Regions from separate parts of the Homo sapiens genome. Here region 2 is linked to region 1. Evidence: promoter capture Hi-C in 16 types of primary human blood cells and fetal thymus (Javierre and others, 2016). All regions are on one chromosome and are shown on one strand. Each heading gives the region's core, a stretch centred on a gene start or on the middle of the fragment in contact. The rest is flanking DNA. Distances are from core to core; before and after follow the strand shown. Region 1 holds the start of CRPPA (CDP-L-ribitol pyrophosphorylase A). Region 2 overlaps CRPPA (CDP-L-ribitol pyrophosphorylase A).

Region 1 (6,938 bases), core at 4,439-6,938:
CAAACAAAAAAGTAAGTTTTGGGTATTTCAGATATAAAGATGAGAGCCACTTCCATTTATTGTGCACTTCTGTGCATACTAAAAAGTAAAGACAACGGCAGGAACTAATAAGTGATTATAGCAGTGCTGTAGGATCCAAGGTTAATACAAAAAAGTCAGTCATTTTCTATATACCAGTAATGAACAAGTGGAATTTGAAATTAAAAACACAGTATTATTTACATTAACCCCCCCATGAAATCCTTAGGTGTACATTTAAGACAACATGTACAAGATCCATATGAGAAAAAGTACAAAACTGATGAAAGATATCACAAAAGAACTAAGTAAAGATGTTCCATGTTTGTGGGTAGAAAGACTCAATGTTGTCAAGATGTCAGTTCTTCCAAAATTAATCTATAAATTCAATGCAATCCCAATCAAAATACCAGCAAGTTATTTTGTGGACATTGACAAACTGATTTTTAAGTTTATATGGAGAGGCAAGAGACCCAGAATAGCCAACACGATATTGAAGAAGAACAAAGTTGGAAGACAGACACTACTGGATCTCAAGACATATAAAAAGCTACAGTAATCAGGACAGTGTGGTATTGACTAAAGGATGTACAAATGAATCAATGGAACATTATAAAGAAACCAGAATTAGACTCAAATAAATACAGTCAACTGATCTTTGACAAAGGAGCAAAGGCAACAAAATGAAGCGAAGACAGTCTTTTCAACAAATGTTGCTGCAACAACTGCATATCTACATGCAAAAACAACAAATAATCTAGACAAACCTTATACCCTTTACAAAATTAACTCAAAACTCACTGACCTAAATGAATCACCGACCTAAAAAAACCCACAAAACTATAAAACTCCTAATAGATAGCATAGCAGAAAACCTAGGTGATCATTTTTTAAAAGCACCACCAAAGGCATGATCCATGAAAAACAATTGATAAGCTGGACTTCATTATCACTAAAAATTTCTGCTCTGCAAAAGACACTGTTGAGAATAAGAAGACAAGCCACAGAGAAAATATTTGCCAAAGTAATATCAGATAAAAAATTGTTCTTCAAAATAAACAAAGAACTCTCAAAACTGAACAATAAAAACACAAATGACCCAACTAAAAAGTGGGCCAAAGACTCTGACACCTCACCAAATATGATACACATGACAAATACGCATATGAACAATGCTCAACATCATATGTCATCAAATAAATACAAATTAAATCAACACTGAGATACCACTACACACCTATTAGAATGGCCAACATCCAGAACACTGACACACCAAATGCTGGTGAGGATGTGAAGCAACAGAAACTCTCATTCATTGCTGGTGGGAATGCAAAATGGTATACCTATTTTGGAGGACCGTTTGGCCGTTTCTTACAAAACTGACCATACTTTTGCCCGTGCAATTCAGCAATCTTTCTCCTTGGTATTTACCCAAAGGAATTGAAAATTTTTGTACACATAAAAACCTGCACAGAGGAACAGAAAACCAAACACCGCATGTTCTCACTTATAAGTGAGAGCTGAATAATCAGAACACGGGGAGGGGAACCACACCGGGACCTGTAGGGAGATGGGGAGTGGGGAGGGAGAACATTAGGAAAAATAGCTAATGCATGCTGGGTTTAATACCTAGGTCAAGGGTTGATAGGTACAGCAAACCACCATGGCATACGTTTACCTTTGTAACAAACCTGCACATCCTGCACATGTACCCCAGAACTTAAAATAAAATTAAAAAAAACCCTACACAGAGATGTTTATTACAGCTTAATCATAATTGCCAAAACTTGGAAGCAAACAAGATGTCTTTCAGTAGGTGAGTGAATAAATACATCACAGTACATCCAGAAAAAAAAAAAAAATCAGTGTTAAAGAGAAAGAAGCTGTCAAGCCATGAAAAGATATGGAGAAAACTTAAATGCATATTACTAAGTGAAAGAAGCCAATCTGAAAAGAATACTGTATGGTTCCAACTATATGATGTTCTGGAAAAGGCAAAAGCATGGAGGCAGTAAAAAGATAATTGGATGCCAGGGATTGGGCAGGGATTAGAGGAGAGGAAGGCATGAATAGACAGAGGATAGAGGATTTTAGGGCAGTGAAATTACTCTGCATGATACTGTAATGGTGGATACACATCACTGTAAATTTATCAATCCTATAGAATGAATGTACAACACCAAGTGTGAACTCTAACGTAAACTAGGGACTGTGGGTTATAATGATGTGTCACTGTAGGTTCATCAGTTGTAACCAATGTACCACTCTGGTGGGAGATGTTAATAATGTGGGAGGCTATGTATGTGTGGGGCAGGGAGCTATTGGAAATTTTTGTACCTTTCTCTCAATTTTGCTGTGAACCTAAAACTACACTTAGTCTACTTTAAAAAATTAAAGGCATGCCAAAGCCAGGTTATGAAATCGTGGTATACATTTAACAAAGTTATGCTTTAAACATTTATAATACATTTTTAAATTCACAAGACAAAGGATTTATTTTAAAAGTCAATACTGGGGTTCTAGTAACGAGACATAAAGTTGAATGAACAGTGCCTTATTTTTTCAATCATATTACTGCATTTCTAACTACGTATAACTTCATTTGCAGATTATAGTCCAAATGAGAATCTTCCTCAGTGTGAAGCCTGTATTAGTTTCCTCTTGCTGCTATAATAAATTACCACAGATTTAGCAGCTTAAAACAACTCAAGTATGTTATCTTACAGTTCTGGATATCAGAAATCTGAAAATGGGGTGGCAGGGCTATATTATTCTGCAGGCTCTAAGAGAAAAACCTGTTTCCTTGCCTTTTCCAGCTTTTAGAGGTTGCCTACATTCCCACCCCTCTGCACTCTGATGGCTGCTTCCATCCTCATACCTCCTTCTCTAACTCTGACCTCTCTCCTATAAGGATGCCAGAGATTACACAGGGCCCACCTGGATAATCCAGGCTACTCCCCTCCATCTTGAGATCCTTCACTTAATCACATCTGCAATGTCTCTTTAGCAGTGTAAGGTAACATATTCATAGCTTCTGGAGATAAGAGCATGGGCATCTTTGGGGAGTCATTATTTTGCCTACTTGGAAGCTCAAAATGGAAACCACTCCAGGAACTTCCAACTCTGCATGCTCTGCCTCATGATTCAGTTGGGGTTTATTTTTTCTAAACTCTTCAAGTGATATCTTAGAATTGTTATTACCAATGGGTCCCAGAGGAGTTCACTTTTCAGGGTATGTACTTTCACATGCCTGATGCAGAGAAGATATTCTCATATTGTGGCTGCTATAACTTGGTATTAAGTAACAAGGAAGCTACATCTGTTACCCCAAAGTATGCAAAACATGGAACTAATTATATTTATATAAAAAGGACAGAGAGAAAAATGTTGCTTCATACTACGTATATGAATGAATACTTTAATGTGCCCTTTTTTCTCTACAAGTTGGTCTGCTAGACATTGTTAATATACAGTATATAAGATCTAAGGATCTAAGGATTCATGGAAGATCTAAATTGATATATCTGCTCTAAGAACAAAACTAAGATTCTAGTTAAAATTTGTCAATGTTTAATTATATAAAATTATTCTATAGCAATTAGTATAACAAGAGCTTTATTACTCTACTTTTCTTCACTCAAGATTAAGTAAAGGAAGAATACCTTTATAACAACTCCACCTTTAGATTAAAAAGGGAGGTTTAAAGATCAATATTAATAGAAATACTAATTCGATTTGCCTTCCTGCTCTCATAGATAGACTCATTTATTTATCCACCCAGTTAGTCAACAGATATTTAAATGCTTGATACAGGTGTGGTAGTGGCGCTATGAAGTCAAGTATTGTGCCAAACTTGTTTAATATAGTTGCTGCCTGGGCATCCATTTTTAGGCCTGATATAAGCTGTTTGAAACCCAGTTGTATCACGTCACCTGTGGCCTACTTAAAACTTCCCCTCCCTGTGATATAGAACACTTATTCCTCATTCCATGACCAAAAACCCAACAGCTGCTAACCATGATAAAACCCAATGGTCAACACCAGAGTCAAGTTCTCCCTTTGCTGGTGTTTTCTTTAAACTAGTCAATCCACAACCCCCTCTGGAAAGCCTAAGGGATAAAGCCTTTGGACCTTAACACAGCCCCACAGGTCCTCTCTCTTGCACCCCACCTGCTGGTTGGGAGTCCTGTTATCTCCAGACTTCCATCAGGCTTATTCTCTGGTGAATCTGTAAGTAATAAAATGCGCCTGTTATTTCACATGTTTTGTGTGCTGCCTCCTCTGGCGTCTCACCTGCACACCAGAACCTAGCTTTCCTCTCTGGGCCAGGGCTCTCCTGAAGAGTGGCTGTTCTGGCTTATGGCCACTCGTAAGAGAGAGACCTCGAGATCAAATTAGAAAGGAACGATAGCAATAAAAATTACAAGGAAGTATATTATGGCACCCACTTTTCAGTTAAGAAACCAACTAGCACAGGACCTAAATGCTAATTATAATAAAAGTAACAAAAGTGAAAGAATGCCTTCAATAAGACTAAACAAAAAGGAAAAGCAGAAAACATATTTTTATATGCTCTCAAGAAAACAGGTAAAAATAAAAATTGTAATACTACAACTAGATAACATTTCCAGTGTTTAAAAAGATTATTTTTTATTAATCATAAGCCACTGGATTAAGACTGAATTACTGATGATTATACACTTTAATGATCATTAATCTATTTAATCAGCAATTCATTCAATACATATTAAGCTTGTGTTACATTCCAGGAGCTGGGCACACACACACAACCCAAGCCAAAAGAAAAATGTTGCTGCTTGCATGGAGTTTACATTCCAGGGACCTAATACAATAGTGCTCTCCTCCAAATTCTCACTATACTTTCATGGTAAACCTCACCAGCAACAAGAGTACTAAATAAGGTAAGATATGCTTTAGGCCTGGAATTCTTCAACTTTGGCCTACTTCTGTATGAGGGCCTTAAGGCTCCTCTGCCATTAGTTGTGCAATCTTACATAAATTAACCATTTTAACGTCTTTTCCCCTTTGTAAAAAGGGAAATGGCAATAGTTGAGTTCTTCTGGGGACTAAATGACATAAGGTGTATCGATTGTTCAGCAATTAGTATTGCTTTGACCCTATGGTTCCAAAACATGCCTGCTCATCAGAATCACCCGAGGATCTTTAAAAACATTCCAAAGTCCGGTGCTCACCAGACCAATTAAATCCCAATCTCTGAGCGTGTCAGGACACGCTCCCCAGGTGGTTCCAAAGTGCAGACAAGTTTGAGAGCCACCACAGTTTGGATTATTGATGTGCCACAATAACACTTGCTAATCCATCTGTCTTTACCCCAGGTGGAACCAGGAAGCCTCCAGAGCTTAATGGAATTCAGATAATCGAGGTGCATACGCACCCTACGTCCCATCCTGTGACTTGAATCCCAATCTCTTCCGAAATTTTAAAGCAGGGAGGGATGGGACAGAGGCCTGACCTCTCCTGCATACTCATGGCCCTTGAGTATCTGCGATCTTTAGATATGTAGGGCGTTCTGACATTTCCACTTGCGGCGACAGCTGGGCCTGCCCGGGGGAAGCGCAGAGCGGGCAAGTCAGCCCTCCCGCAGGCGCTGGGACCGGGTGCGGAGGCCGCAGCCGAGCCGCGAGGGCAGATCGGCAGCCTCAGCTGCTGCCGTAGCTGTCGGGATCGTCCCCTGCGGGGCAGCAACAGCGGGGCTCCGACGGCTGAGGGGGGCGCCTTCTGCTTGCGCGCTCTGCGTCCCTCTCCGTGGTCTGCCCTTCGCCCCGCGACCCCGGCCGAGGGTGGGAGCAGCGCGGGGTCGCATCGGCCCGAGGCTAGCGGGGCTCGCCGTTCCGCCCGCAGCCATGGAGGCCGGGCCGCCGGGCAGCGCCAGGCCGGCGGAGCCGGGTCCTTGCCTGAGTGGTCAGCGCGGCGCGGACCACACGGCTTCCGCCTCCCTGCAGAGCGTGGCCGGGACCGAGCCCGGGCGCCACCCGCAAGCCGTGGCAGCTGTGTTGCCTGCCGGGGGGTGCGGGGAGAGGATGGGGGTCCCCACCCCGAAGCAATTCTGCCCCATCCTGGAGAGGCCGCTCATCAGCTACACCCTACAGGCCCTGGAGAGGTAATGCGGCGCCGGGCGCGCCCCGCGGTTCCCTGGGGCCCGGCCTCCCGCTCCCCGCCCTGCCGCTGCTCTAGCGCTAGCACCTTCACTTGGGGGACTGCCGGGCCGCGCTCAGTTATTCAAGCTTGAGCTCTGTTCCCTCCCGCATTTCAGAGATGGGAAGTTCTGGCCTTTAACAGATGGGCACGAAAGCTGCAGCTCCCCCACAGAGCCCTTTACGTCCCCAAGCAGATGAGGTTGTGGGGAAGGCCCGTCGTGTGGCGCCGATTAGAGAGTGCATGGGTTGGGACTAGGCGATTTGGGGTTCTAGCTGTGGGGCCTGAGGAGAAGCTGTGCGGATAGTCTCGCGGTCCTGGGGCTCTGCCTCCGCGCATGCGTGGATTGAGTTGTACGTGCACACTGAAGTTTCCAGGGCGTGTGTTCGTTTTTTTCATTCATTTACTGAGCACCTTCTGTGAGACAGGCTGCGCTAATTACTAGGTGCTGCAGGAGGGGAGAGGAGCAGAATTTAATAACCTTTCAATGGTGGAAAGGGCTTTAAGCCTGAATTTGAGGTCATACCCCCTTTATCTTAGAAAGGGCACTGAAGTTAACTAGTTGGGGAAATGAAGGAGACAGGGAATGGGATAAGGAGGACTAGGGGAACAGTCGTGAGGAGCTGAGGAAGTGAAATGAAGGGGTATGTTATAATATTAACTTACTTTGCTTTTAGCACTGAGTAATGAGGTGGAGCTTGGGGCGAGGGTGCAGGGGTGGGAAGCAGCGGCATTACAAATAT
Region 2 (6,320 bases), core at 334-2,833, 150 kb after region 1:
ACAAAGGATATGAATAGACATTCTTTCAAACAAGATATATAAATGGAAAAAAAATAACCCTATGATTTCCCCCTTTATTTTACAAATGGAAATAGGGAAACTTGCAGTTTGATTTGCCTGAGGTCATGTCAATAGTGAATATAGATGCTAGTTGATTCAAAATGGTCTCTACTAATTAATATTCTTCTAAGGAAAGGTGAGATAAAAGACTGAGATTTTTAAGTTTGACAAAGGGCTAATACCTAATGTCTGAAAGACATCCCCTTAGGAAAGGATTTATGTAGTTTTATATACTTTTTCCCTTCCCTTATAAAGGTAAATTTATCTCATGACATTTTTCAGCTTATAACTTACAAATACAAAATGCAACGTATTCTAACATTTTCACCTCTCAAAGCTTTCATCCTACTTTGAAAGGAATGTGTAAAAAGGATGAAGTCACCACTATTGAAATCCTGGCATCTGTAGGGCAGATCAGTGTGGGTGTGGAGCTGCTCAACACATAATGGGAGGATTGTTTTGTTAACATGAAAAGAAAAAATGTTTTCCTTTGAAATTAAGGGAAAAGATTGGGTATGTTTATTGTAATTATCTGTACTAGAATTTTGCAACATACCTTACAGGTGAACCAAACATCTAACTTTAATGATACCCACCAAATACCTGGAAGAGGTTGTTAAAAAGTTAAGTAAAGAGCTAACTTGGGGAGAGGCACCTCTCCTACTCCCCCCATTCACAGGCACTTTTTACTGATTCTTAAAGGACAAGGCTTTGCTATCAGTCTTGCTATTTTCCTCCTCCGTTTTTCTCAGCAATTTGAAGTATTTCACAGACCTTACCAGCTTTGAAGATAGAGCTCTCCAGAGATAGATCAGGGTGGTAGACAGTTTTAAAGGGACCTCTCTCACTTCTTCCCAGTTTTCAGTAAATATCCAAAAATAGTTTATACTATATACTGAACTGAAGGTAGTAAGGAATTTATAAGTGGGAAGATATGATTAGTCTTTTATTCCTAAATTCTCTAGTTTATTTACCAAATAATAAATGCCTGTCATGATATAGTCACTAGATACAGGGAGTTGAACTGAGCAAGTATGATTTCCTATTTCCAAGGAGCATATTGTCCAGTTGGGGATAAAAAGTAAATGAATGCAAATTAAAATGTCAAATTGTGATGAATATTCTAAGGAAAACATAACTGTGCTTATATAAGAGAGCCAGAGAAAGTGACTTAGATTGGGAGTGGAAGGCAGTAAGTGAAATCTCTTGGCAGATGTGGTATTTAACTTAAGTCTTTAAGGGCAATAAATAATTATCTATTTAAAGAACAAACCAGAAGTAACAGTATGTGAAAGGCACATAAAGAGCTTCATTGGGGCACAGAAAGAAAGCATCTGTGGTTGGAGATGCAAATGGAGTGGAAGTGGGAGTAGCAAGAGACAAGGAAAGAGCCTTGTAGGCTTTTTATGTTGAGTTTACCACTTCTACTGTTACCGTTGCTACTATTATCATTTATATATTGTTTTAAGGGGAAAATGAAGTGAGAGAAGACTTTATTTGAAAATGACATGATCCAGTTTACCTTTACAAGAAGATTATGGTGGCTGCTCCTCTTAAAAGTACAGTTCTACAGAGGAAACCTCTGCAGTACTTGTTTTCATACATCACATTACCTCTAAATGCATATAAGCGTGTTCAACCCAATATTCATTCCTGTAATAAAAGAATGGAACTCCTAAAGAATGCTGATCTATACTCTGAACAAACAGGGACTGTAGGGGCTTTTCATGTATTTTGGTTATCCACTCCTTCCTGTTTCCTGGAGGACGTAATTTAATTATTGTTTTGAGTAATCACAAATGACAAGCAGGGTGTAACTGAAAATCACGTGTAAAGCATGCTCTGATTTTGTTGAGGCTGTTCTATGGTACTTAGTTTCTTTTTTTTTTCCCTTATGCCCTCAAGGTTGTGTCCAGTGTATGGATCCATGCCTTTTGTTATAGACCTCAGTAAATTCACCGTATGACATATTAGTCAAACAACACATCAAAACTAGCACATGCAATAAAGAAAAGCGGAGAGAACATAAACAGAGCAAATTAAGCCACAGCAGCATCCTAAGACCTATCCAAAACAGTTATTTTATGCTTATTTTGATACATATTATATTTTAGCGTGAATATACAGGATTTTCATTTGTTTGCACCTGAATACTGTATAGTTAATAACAATGAAATAACACTGGAAAGCTACTTTTTTCTCTTGCGCCTCTAACTGTGAACAGCACCACATTTATGTGTTACATGCATGTGTATACAAGAATATAGAAACTAGCCAAAAACCATCTCATTAAATCCATTTGATTTATTTGGTATGTTAGCCAGATTTCCTGAGCAATTCTCCAGAGGTGGAAAGAAACTCCAAAATGATAGACCACCTAGTTGAAGAAGATGGTATGAATTATATTGATGTTGTATTAAATAAAATTAACAATTTATATTAATAACTGATTGTCATGGTTTTAAAATATTAATTGAGGGAGCTAGGATAATTTGCTTTAAATGCTATTTTCTCTATTTTTTTCTTTGTGTATTTCACATATCTTCATCTTTTTAATTATTTATATTCTTGAAATACAGGAACCTGTTGAAATATTACTCTTCCTAAAGGAACCAGATGGTTAATCTGTAAAAATGGTCTTTTGCATCTTGTCCGCTTAGAAATGAGGTCATTGCTTACAAGTTCTGGACAACCATTATACTAAGCTTACAAAATAAAAACAGAAACCAGCCACCACCAATTTTTGGGCATGTATTCATAAAGTCAAGTCTTAGCCTTTAACTCAGGAAATTTTTTGATTTTACACATAAAGTAAATATGTTTAGAAGGAAAATCCGTACAAAAAGTTGACAAAGTTGTTTTTGTATGTAGATTATAGTTAACCTTCAACAATTGATTTTGAAGAATGTTGTATACTAAATTGCTTATGCTATTTAAATTGAGATGTAGCTTCAGAACTCAGTCATTTCACTTCATGTCATTAATTTTTTTTCTCCAGTTATAGGATACATGATGTTTGCAAAGCATCATTTTGTGCTTATGTTATCCCTAATAATTGAGTTTGGAAATGTATTTTATGTCAAGTATTTGTGTGTAGTATAATTTTACTTTACAATGCCACAGAGTAGGTTATTCTGTTGTTCTAGTAGCTTTAGCTAAACAATGGTTCCAAGGTTTTGGTGGTTCTGGGAACACTGAATCAAATATACCACTTTGAGCTTATAACCACAGTACATTATCGTGTTATCTTGTTACTGGAAAACTTCTTTCCAAGGCCTACAACTTGTGTTAAAAAAAGTTTACCTTTCTCTCTTACGTTGGCACTGTATACCTTAAATGACTATTCAGTATATGAGGGTAAAAAAAAGTCTATACAGCTTGATCCGTCATTGAAGATCTTCTGCAGTCTACACCGACGTTTTTTGTCACAATGTTATTGCTGTTGTGGCTCAACATGTCTTGAAACGATTAGTCTTCTACCTCTTTTGCACTCTATTCTACTGGATTGCATGCCTTCTCTATTTGTCAATTTTATGTTATAAGGCTTAGTTGATTACTCTTTCCATGAACTTGTCCCCAGTCTTTTTTTTTTTAGTTATTGGATCTCCTAAATTACTCATCAATTGTTGTGTCATTCTACATATCCTGCTTATTATTTATCCATTTGCGCATGTCTTTCACCGTCTCTTATCACTGATCCCTCACACAGTGCTGTGGAGATGGAAGGAGTCAGATAAATAGTTGTGGTTAAAGATGAGAGCATGATGAACCAGCAAGCTTCTGGAGTACCTCTCTACCGGGCCAACAGCCAAATATGTTGCTGGAGATAAAGAGGTCGCCTCTGGGCCATCCATCAATCATCGGAACAGTTGAGAAGAGTTTAAAACACAAAACTCAAGAAGTTCGAACTGATTTTCTAACCAGAAGAAAAAACTATGTTCACAAAAGGAGGCAAGAGAAGGTGCTGGTAGCAGATGTTGCAGAGATTAGATGAGCTGGAGTTAGCAACAGTGATGAAATTGGTGGTGAGCAGCCTTCTGTCAGGAAAGAAAGACAGTGTTGCAGAAATGAGCACTGCAGAGGGGACCTTCTAGTGGAGTGAAGAAAATAAGCCATAAGCAATATTTTTAAAATGTATTCTGTAGACTCTACCGTAAGATTCTATATTACATATTTGAATCTATTTTTCTATATTGTCTAGAAATGTACTGTTTAAAAAATATTATATGGTATATACTTAGTTCTGAAACAAGTCACATGATCGAGTTTTTGTTCAAAATGTAATTTATCCTTAGTATTTTTAAAATATTTTGAACCTCTAAGCTAAACAATGTATATTCAACAGGCTCCTCATAAGTCATAATGGGAAAGTTGTATGAGAGGGAAATTTTATGTATAAATATTGCAAGTATATTTCTCATACAAGAGGAGTATACATTAATGAAAAATAGTTTGCTTATTACATAGGGTTTGATGGCAGTTTTCAGGTTGAACAAATATTGGGATGGTGTCTGAATATTCTTTAAAAGACTATTGCATGATTTTCTTGGGATTACATGTGAAAGGACTCTTCGGTAAGCTATTCATACAAATTATAGCTGATTTTAATTTTCTTTATTTTCTATCATTTTGTAAAAACTAGGTGGAAAATGGAGGTTGTTGAGAACCTTTTTAATATTTCTTATCTAGACATTTGTCTAGATAATATTTCTTATCTAGACAATTGTCACATTTGCAGTACAATATCAATCATGTCATTTAAGTGATTGTCATTTTCTCATCACATGATTTTAATATGGAAACAGGCTGCAATTATACTTCTATATACAGTTGTCCCTCAATTTATATGGGGGTTCCAGGACCTACCTTTCTGCTCTACAAATACCACAATTTATGGGTGCTCTAATCCGTTACATAAAATGAAATAACGTTTACATATAACCTATATACATCTTCCTGTATATGTTAAATCATCTTTAGATTACATACAGTCCCTAATACAATATAAATGCTATATAGTTACACTGTATTTTTATAAATTTGTATTTTTATTGTTTAGTTTTGTTTTTCAAATGTTTTTGACCCACGCTCGAATCCTTAACTGTGGAACCAACAGATTCTGGAGGCAGACTGTACATTTAGACAGAATCTTTATTACTTAGGAAAAATAAAAACTTTATGCATTTAAATTAAATTACGTTGTAAACTTAGCAAGAATTTGAGGGAAAAAAGTTGAATTAATGAATTGTTTAATTTTAGTCATTTATGTTTGCCATACCAATATATGTAATAAAGATAAAGGCAATGGCTTTGGCTCAGTAAGGTTGCAGTTTTCTTTCATTTGCTAGATGAGGACACACTCCTCAGTAAATATCTACTCAAAATGAGAGATGACTTTTAGATTAATGTGGATTCAAATGATAGAACCTTTTGCTGGCTCAAAGTGTGATCCAGGCATCAGTTATATCAGTATCAACTGTAAGCTTCTTAGAAATGTTTATTCTTAGCTTTACCCCAAATCTAAAAGAATTAAAATCTGCATTTATAACAGGATTCTCAGAAATTCCCATAGACATTGAAATTCGAGAAATACACATCTAAAATTTATTTTGTTTTCCCATTAGGCTATAAACTTCTTAAGGGCAGAAACCTGTCTAGTCATTGACATGGTCTCAGTATACAATTTAGTGTCTGGCTTGTAGCTATCAATAAATATTGGTCAAATGAATGAAATTATATTAATCCATCAATGGCTAAGATACTCTGTTCTTTGTGACCTTGTTTTATTTTTAATTAAGACAGATAGGATTTGTTCATTTTAACTTGCCAGTTCTCAGCTTGCAAATGTTTTATGCATTACTAATAAATATAAAGGGATCATATTACTGTTTATATCTTTTTCACATATCATTAGTGATTTCCACTAATAGTTACAGAACATGCCTGCCAAACATGATATATGAGTTAATGCCAGTCGTTTCCCATCTACTACACACTGTCTTTTAGTTATAGTATAATCTGTCATGAAAGCTCGACAGAAAGAAAAGCAGGGTGGTATTTTGCAGCTTTACAATTTGTGTTGATACTATCCAACTTTGGATGCATAATAAAACGGGGCTGGGCACGGTGGCTCGTGCCTGTAATCCCAGCACTTTAGGAGGCCGAGGCGGGTGGATCACCTAAGGTCAGAGGTTCGAGACCAGCCTGGCCAATATGGTGAAAGTCCCATTCTACTAAAAATACAAAAATTAGTCAGGCGT

The links. Contacts are between HindIII fragments. The CHiCAGO score rates a contact against its expected background, and 5 or more counts as called.
Region 2: a contact is called between a fragment that was not itself captured here and the fragment with the promoter of CRPPA in region 1, in 1 of 17 cell types (erythroblasts). The highest score is 5.6, in erythroblasts.

The regions. Positions count from the first base shown.
Region 1 is chr7:16,420,288-16,427,225 of GRCh38, reverse strand. CRPPA (CDP-L-ribitol pyrophosphorylase A) reads left to right here and starts at 5,688. Exons shown (of 10, transcript NM_001101426.4): 1 at 5,688-6,160. The coding sequence starts at 5,904. It overlaps LOC105375168 (a long non-coding RNA gene), which reads right to left and starts at 6,540. Exons shown (of 5, transcript XR_007060223.1): 1 at 6,244-6,540; 2 at 4,189-4,246. RefSeq lists silencers at 5,878-6,017, 6,038-6,097. The HindIII fragment of the contact is 1,514 bases long and covers 4,773-6,286 here.
Region 2 is chr7:16,266,634-16,272,953 of GRCh38, reverse strand. All of the region lies in intron 6 of CRPPA (CDP-L-ribitol pyrophosphorylase A), which reads left to right. CRPPA-AS1 (CRPPA antisense RNA 1) reads right to left here. Exons shown (of 5, transcript NR_038947.1): 5 at 2,350-4,097. Among named protein-coding and RNA genes, the nearest start is that of CRPPA-AS1, 59 kb to the right of the region's middle. The HindIII fragment of the contact is 2,368 bases long and covers 400-2,767 here.